Regions from separate parts of the Homo sapiens genome. Here regions 2 and 3 are each linked to region 1. The links are contacts of gene promoters, found by promoter capture Hi-C in human tissues and cell types (Jung and others, 2019). All regions are on one chromosome and are shown on one strand. Each heading gives the region's core, a stretch centred on a gene start or on the middle of the fragment in contact. The rest is flanking DNA. Distances are from core to core; before and after follow the strand shown. Region 1 holds the start of DNASE2 (deoxyribonuclease 2, lysosomal). Region 2 overlaps NFIX (nuclear factor I X). Region 3 overlaps NFIX (nuclear factor I X).

The links. Contacts are between HindIII fragments. The study calls those that stand out against the background at their distance.
Region 2: a fragment that was not itself captured here is called in contact with the fragment with the promoter of DNASE2 in region 1 in 1 of the 25 tissues and cell types used here (lymphoblastoid cells).
Region 3: a fragment that was not itself captured here is called in contact with the fragment with the promoter of DNASE2 in region 1 in 3 of the 25 tissues and cell types used here (dorsolateral prefrontal cortex, lymphoblastoid cells and spleen).

The regions. Positions count from the first base shown.
Region 1 is chr19:12,880,194-12,882,708 of GRCh38, reverse strand. DNASE2 (deoxyribonuclease 2, lysosomal) reads left to right here and starts at 1,260. Exons shown (of 6, transcript NM_001375.3): 1 at 1,260-1,419; 2 at 1,557-1,737; 3 at 1,829-1,907. The coding sequence starts at 1,334. RefSeq lists cis regulatory regions at 1-138, 878-1,438 and enhancers at 1,333-1,442, 1,102-1,729. The HindIII fragment of the contact is 10,490 bases long and covers 1-2,394 here.
Region 2 is chr19:13,064,468-13,066,982 of GRCh38, reverse strand. The region is part of intron 2 of NFIX (nuclear factor I X); the gene reads right to left. Among named protein-coding and RNA genes, the nearest start is that of LYL1, 37 kb to the left of the region's middle. The HindIII fragment of the contact is 5,516 bases long and covers 1-2,515 here.
Region 3 is chr19:13,038,321-13,040,835 of GRCh38, reverse strand. All of the region lies in intron 2 of NFIX (nuclear factor I X), which reads right to left. Among named protein-coding and RNA genes, the nearest start is that of NFIX-AS1, 24 kb to the right of the region's middle. The HindIII fragment of the contact is 3,683 bases long and covers 1-2,515 here.

The DNA of each region.
Region 1 (2,515 bases), core at 11-2,510:
TGGGCAACATAGTGAGACCCTCATCTCTGCAATGAACAATTATCTGGGTGTGGTGGCACAGGCCTGTAGTACCAGCTACCTGGGAAGATCTCTTGAGCCCAGTAGGTTGAGGCTGCAGTGAACTGTGATGGAGTCACTGCATTCTAGCCTGGGTGAGAAACCATTATCCTGTCTCAAAACGACAAAAAACAAACATACAGTCACCTCTTTGCTAGCTCAGGGGATCCTGGAGAAAACGTGCAGAATGAAAAAGGAGAGTCTGGGTGGCGTGGATTACATGCCTGTAATCCCAGCACTTTGGGAGGCAAGACAGGTGGATCCCTTGAGCTCAGGAGTTCAGCCTGAGCCACATGGTGAAACCGTGTTTCAAAAAAAAAACTACAAAAATTAGCTGGGCATAGTGGCATGTGCCCGTGATCCCAGCTACTCGGGAGGCTGAGGTGAGAGGATCACTTGAGCTGGGGAGGCAGAGGTTGCAGTGAGCCAAGATTGCGCCACTGCACTCCGGCCTGGGCAACAGAGCGAGATATTGTCCGGGAAAAAAAAAAAAAAAAAAGGAAGGAAAAAAAAAAAGAAAGAAAAAGGGGAAGATACACTGGAACACAAATGCTTCTTAAGGGGCGCAGTGGCTCACTTCTGCAATCTTGGCACTTTCGGGGGCCGAGGCTGGTGGATCACGAGGTCAGGAGTTCGAGACCAGCCTAGTCAACATGGAAAAACCCCGTCTCTACTAAAACTACAAAAATTAGCCGGGCGTGGTGTCGGGCGCCTGTAATCCCAGCTACTCGGGAGGCTGAGGCAGGATAATCGCTTTAATCAGGAAGGCGGAGGTTGCAGTGAACCGAGATCGTGCCATTGCACTCCAGCCTGGGCGACAAGAGTGAAACTCCGTCTCAAAAAAAAAAAAAAAAAAAAAAAAAAAAAAAGAGGAAGAACAAAGGTCCCAAGAGTTGGACCCAGGTTGTAGGGCTGGAATAAAAAATAAAATACAAACTTGTGCCTGATCCAGAAACCCGGGCGGGAGTTGGGTCAGACAGAAGAGCGTGGGCTGGGATTAGCTACCACGAAAAGGAACGGTGGCCAGGCTCCAGGAGACGCTGGAGCGCCGGGCCCGTCGTGGGCGTGGTCTGGGCAGACTCAGCGTTGCCTTTTGCCTCTCCAAAACGCAGCATCGCGTCTCGGGGGAGGAGTCTGTACCCTCGTGATGTCCCCGCCCCGGTTCCCAGGCAAGTTTAGGGAAGTGAAAGGCGCCAGGTGCCAGTCCTGGCCTCTGATGTAACCCAGCGCCCCGCAGTCCCGACACAGATTCCTGGATCTCAGCCCCATAGCAGCTATGATCCCGCTGCTGCTGGCAGCGCTGCTGTGCGTCCCCGCCGGGGCCCTGACCTGCTACGGGGACTCCGGGCAGCCTGTAGACTGGTGAGTGCGCAGCGGGGGGCCTACCATCGCCCCGGGGTCCGGCTGCGGTCACTCAACCGGGATGGCTACCTCCTCGGGGAACCCTGGGGTGCCTTCTCTTCCCTCTCTCCTATTTCTGTGCATTCTCCGACCTCCAGGTTCGTGGTCTACAAGCTGCCAGCTCTTAGAGGGTCCGGGGAGGCGGCGCAGAGAGGGCTGCAGTACAAGTATCTGGACGAGAGCTCCGGAGGCTGGCGGGACGGCAGGGCACTCATCAACAGCCCGGAGGGGGCCGTGGGCCGAAGCCTGCAGCCGCTGTACCGGAGCAACACCAGCCAGGTGAAGGGGGCCCCGGGCCAACTAGGGGCGAAACTCTAGGGCTGCCCTGCCTGGGAGGAATTTCACGTTGCCTCCGTTTATCCGCCCGCAGCTCGCCTTCCTGCTCTACAATGACCAACCGCCTCAACCCAGCAAGGCTCAGGACTCTTCCATGCGTGGGCACACGAAGGGTGAGGCCTGGATTGGGGGCTGGGGAGAGACTCGGGTCCCATTTTTCCAAGGTAACCCCTGACGTGCATGGGGTGGTCGGGGAGATCTGCACTGTCAGACCCTGGGCATCTATTCCCCCCAACTTTTTTTTTTCTTTGTTTTTGAGACGGTGGGAGTTCGCTCTGTCACCCAAGCTGGAGTGCAGTGGCACAATCTTGGCTCACTGCAATCTCTGCCTCTGGGGTTGAAGCAATTCTCCTGTCTCAGCCTCCCAAGTAGCTGGTATTAAAGGCGCACCATCACACCAGGCTAATTTTCATATTTTTAGTACAGACGAGGTTTCACCATGTTGGCCAGGCTGGTCTCGAACTCCTGGTTTCTACCTCAAGTGATCTACCCGCCTTGGCCTCCCAAAGTGCTGGGATTACAGGAATGAGCCACCCTGCCCAGCCGAGTTCCTATGCATTTTTCCAAGCTAACCCCTGACCTCCATAGTGGGGTGGGAGATCTCCCCTGTCAGACCTTGGGCATCTATTTCCCCTATTTTATTTTCTTTTAGACAAGGTCTCACCCAGTCACCTAGGCTGGAGTGCAGTATCACAGCTCACTGCAGCCTTGACCTCCCAGG
Region 2 (2,515 bases), core at 10-2,509, 180 kb before region 1:
GTGGATAGATGGGGGGCTAAGGGGACGGGTCACAGAGGGGTTCTCCCCGTCTCAGCAGACAGGAGACTCAGGGGACCAAGGAAGTCCTTGAGAATGCAGGGCAGCCAGAGGGCCGGGGGATGAGGCTTGGCCAGGGTCTGGGCCCACGGGGCTTCTAGGATCTTCCTCTCCTTCTCTCCATTCCTCACCCTGCTCCACCAGCCACCATGCATGTGCACACACACATGTGCACAAACACACACACACATGCACACACACATCCTGGAGTCATCCTGAGGTGGCAGGTTTTTCCCTCCTCTGTCATCCCTAGAGTCTCACATGGTTTAAAGCCGGAGCCTGAACAAGAAGCAGAGCCCGCAAGCTGTGGGTGGGGGCAGGGATAAGGACAGGGGAACATGTCACCCCATTATCGTCCTCTCCCCTTTCCTCATTCCCTCCCTGCTCACAGATCCAAAGGGGCTTCTGCCTTTGACTTGACTGACCTGCTGGAGATGGGGGAAGAGGACATGGCAGAGGGGATAAGTGACAGGAAAGAGGAAGAAACCGAGTGACACCCACATGTGGTCTAGGCCTGCTCTGGCTGCCCCTAGGGCCTAGGCTCAAGAAAAGCCATTGTTGGGGGCGGGGGGGTAGGGAAGGCACAGGAACCTGGCAGATGAAGGGCCAGCATCTGGATGGGACATTCCCCTCTCCATCCCCTGACCCCAGGAAGAACTACTTTCTCCATTCCAACACATCCCGGCCTCTACGGGTGCCCCTGGAGCAAGTGCCAGGCCTGGCTACTACAGGACTCACAGCTCGGCAGTAAGGCTTCGGGAAGCGAGGAGAAAGCAAGTCCATCAGCTCATCTTGTACCCAGGAGACCAGCAGAGCAGTCTCACACTTCATCTGAAAGCCTCAGGCCCCACACGGTGTCGAGGTGAAGAAGGCCTGTCTCCTACAGTCCTTGGTTGCCTCCACTCCCCATGTGGAGATAGACTCATAGCCAGAAGCCTTCCAGCCACACAGCCCATCACTGCCTCCCTCATATAATGAGAAAGGTGTTCCTAAGCTTAAAATTTTCCTCCAGGAAAACAATAGAACTCCCACCTCCCTTCCATCCCCAGCAAGTGGCCCCGGAGCCCTCCAGGGAGTTCTTCTGGTGTGAGCTACTCAGCGTTCTCTGCTTGGCTCCCGTTCATTAGCAGCCGTCCCCAGCCCAGGGAGAACTCCTTTAGATGGGCCCAGGCATGGAGCGGCAGAAGAAGCCAGGAGGCACTGGGGAACTGAATGCTCAGTTGCTCTTCCCCAAGGGATGACAGGCAGTGGCCAGCAAAGGAGAGAGAGAAGGGATATGCCCCTGGTGCACAACAGAGCACCCAGCAGGTGGACAAAGGCCCACCTGCCAATGGCCACTCCAGGATCAGCCCAACAGTTAATAAATGAGACCCCCAGCCACAGCAGCAATGGGACATGCGAGTGGGCCTGCAGGCTCCTCCTGTGTCTGCCCATGGCAAGGTGACCCAGCACCAAACCTAGCACCTCAGATACCTGACTATGGAGGGAACAAGTGGACCCAGGGCATGGCAGCAGCACTGTCTGGGGTGTTTCAGAGATACCTGGGGTAGGAATTCCCATCAGAGCAGAAGAGATTGAAGATGACAGGCAAAGATCAGGCAAGGAAGAAGGCAAAGAAAAACATCTTGGGCAGGAGCCATTGGCCTGGGTCTGCTTCCCCTGTCCTCTGAGCCTGCCCTTGGCCTACCCAGGGAGGTGCCCTTGGTCTGGAGCCTGTGTCCACTGAGGGGGTACAACACAGTGCTCTACCACTGTGGATACCCTATCCTGGGTGAGCTGGCCTTGCCCCAGCACAGAGGGGCCGAAGGGGGCATGCTGAAATGGAGGGTAGGAGGAGGAAGGAGGTGGGTGGCCAGCAACGGCATACCAAGGCTCCCCCAATTCACATCCGTGCTCCAGAACCTACCAGCCTGTGACTTTGGTCAAGTTATGAACTGTTTCCTCATCTGTAAAAGGGAGATAACACCTACCATTAGCATTCCTGGGTAAGGAATAAATGAGAAAACATGTATAATAAGGTGCTTAGCTCAGGGCCTGGCTCATAGTTGGGGCTACATAAATGTCGCCTGTCCTTCCACCTGGATTACTATTTCCCTTCATCTCCATTTGCTGAATGCTTATTCCTCCTTCTCAACTCTGTTCAAATGCCACCTCCCACCCTGGTGGGGGAAGCTGTGGCTGACCCTCAGCTCCCCTCCCCAGGAGCTCACGCTCTTGAGTACATGGTGAGTGTGTCCTAGATTGCAGTTTTTGGTGTCTTGACCCAGGGACCACTGCCAGTGAACAGAGGGGCTCCCTTGGGGCCTGGCCCACTACCATCTACAAAGAGCAACAGAGAGGTTTCTCTGCAAATATAATGGCAGAGCCTGGGCAGACACCTGTACAGGCATATCCCTCCCCACATCGGTGTGCAATAGCCATCCAACGGTCTCAAGACAGTCACCATACTAGAAACAGG
Region 3 (2,515 bases), core at 9-2,508, 160 kb before region 1:
CAAAGGTACAGCAGCGGCAGCAGAATCAACTTTAAGATCTGCTTCGAGAAGTGGCTGTGTGTGTGCGCGAGTGTGTGAAAGACAAACCTCCCTCCCTATTCACATTCCTTTAATAATTCATTGTTAATAACCAAACCCAGCTACCAGAGCCGCAAGCACATGTACCAGCTGGAGGACGGCAGTCATCTCTGACCCGAGAGGCCCAGACTGAAGGGGTCTCCAGGAGATGGAGGGCAGGAATAGCAGCCATGAGTCTGTCCATACAAGGAGCCTGGAGGCCAGGGCTCCTGAGGAGAGGGAGGGAGGCGAGGAAAAGCCTCAGAGCAAAAGGCAAGCAATCCCAGTGGGCCCAGGACTGATCCCTGCCAATCCCTGCCGCAGGGCATCCACCAGGCTAGCGTGGCAGGGAAGATCTGGCACGGGAAGAGACCCTGTCACGAGTGAGTTTGGCTGCTCCGCAGACCAAGTCTGGAGAGGACATGGCCTCTGGGGGGCTGTGTGCTTTGTGGCCAAAAGGGAGGATGTCCCCAAAGATGACTATTTAGCAGGGACAGCCAAGGAGACCAAGAAAAGGCCTATGAGAGGGTGGGGTGGGCTGAGCCCACCAAGCAGTAGCCCCTGTAACAAGGTACTCAGCGGGGGCAGGGGTGAAGGAAGGGGCTGAGAAGAAGGCTGCTCCTTCCCCATTTTCCTGAGAGCTCATTCACATAAAATAAAAACAAGTATTTTGAAAAACCAAGTCTCTTTGAACCCATTAACCCACAGCTTCTCACTTGCCTGCCACACTCCTTCCAGCATTCTGGAAGCTTCCACTGCCCCTCCTCTGTCAGGATTCTCCCCTCATAATGCCCACTCAGAGAGCACACCTGCCACTTTCCCATCTTGGCTCTCTTCCTTCATCAGCCCCCTTTCTGATTTTTATACCATCGTGAGCCTTTACATCATCTCAAGGATGGGCCATGGGCTGCTTCCCATCTGAAGGTAATTCAATATTCAAAATGGGTTTATGGAGCGTATAAAACTATAAGCTGCGCGAGAGACAGATGCAAAGGCGGATAAAACACAGTCCCAGCTCCAAGATTCCAGCCTAAGAGAAACTAAAAACTGCATGCTAAGTATCACAACGGAGCAAAATAAACTGGCCCCCAGCTGAGCCCAGGGCCAACTTGCATAGAAACGGGGCCTCGCCCAGCAGATTGCTCCCCTCTGCAGCAGACTCTCCAAGGTCCCTGTTTTCGTGACAAGACATGTAAAGGCAAGACTTGCCACCATGGGGATGCACTGCCTCTCCCAGGGTGCAGTGAGGAGGCCAACACATGCCTTCTGCCCCATTCACAGGCAAGGTAGCAGAGCTCAGGCTCACCAGGGGCATTTCTGCAGCCGGAGCACTTTGTTGAAGAGGAACACAATTCAAGAGGCCTTGCCAAGCCAGGCTGGCATCTGAGTAATTATATTAATGAATCTCTGAGTTACAAAATCTAATATTAGACAGTGGCTTCAGTACCATCATCCTCAGTTACTGTCCCACGTGGCTGGGAACACTCCTGGGCAGCAGCAGGGCTTGAACAGACCCTACACACACACACACACGTGTATGTGTGTGTGTGGGGGGGGGTGTTTAATTTAAAAGAAATGCATGTATTTGAAACTATGCCCAGAGATTTGTGTGCTGGGCCCACTTTGTAAACCACGATACCATAAATAAGTGAGAGAAATCTGGCCATTGTCCTCAGGGCAGAGGCCTCTCTCTTGGCCATATCTTTTGGGCTGGCAATATCCTGAGGATTATTGCTCCATGGAGCAATGGCCTTTGTGTTCGGAGCCAGCACTGTTCCCCACAGAGTCCCCTTTGGCACAGCAGGCAGGACCTTGCATGTAGACCCTTGGGCCCTTCCTCCCCATCCACGCTTATTAGCTGCCTCAATCTCAAGTCCAAACTCAAAAGTTGGGCCTGACACACACAACGGGTAGCCCACAGCCCAGCTGATCCCCTCTCTCTGGCCAAATCTCTGGTGCAGACCAGACCACTGCGCCACCACCACCATCCTGGCCTTCATCTGTGGGCCCTGTCCGAGGCCAGCAGAAACGATGACCCAGTTGGCCACGCTATGCATGTGGTCAAGGCCAGAGGGCGCCAAGTCAACTGCAGCCAGGTAGTAAACTAAACAGGCACTAAAGGCAGGTGAAAAACAGTGTCTGCTATGCTTTCATGATTACATTTCACATATGCCGGGCTAAACGGAAACTTCTATAAATGACATGAGAACACTTAGAACCTAGATTTCTGTAAACTCCATGTGCCAGAATAGGATTTGGCTCTCTCCTGCTCCTGCCTCATTTGTTTCATTTGGGAAGCTTCTTTGGGTGGCAGAGTCCAGCCCTGGTCACTGGGTCTGGGAAACTGGCTTTTATGGAAGTGAGTTCTCACCCTGGGACTGCTACGCTCAGGAAGCCCCAGGAGCCGCAGTGGCCTGTTCAGGTCTATATGGGAAGAGGTGACCTGAAAGGCAGGGAA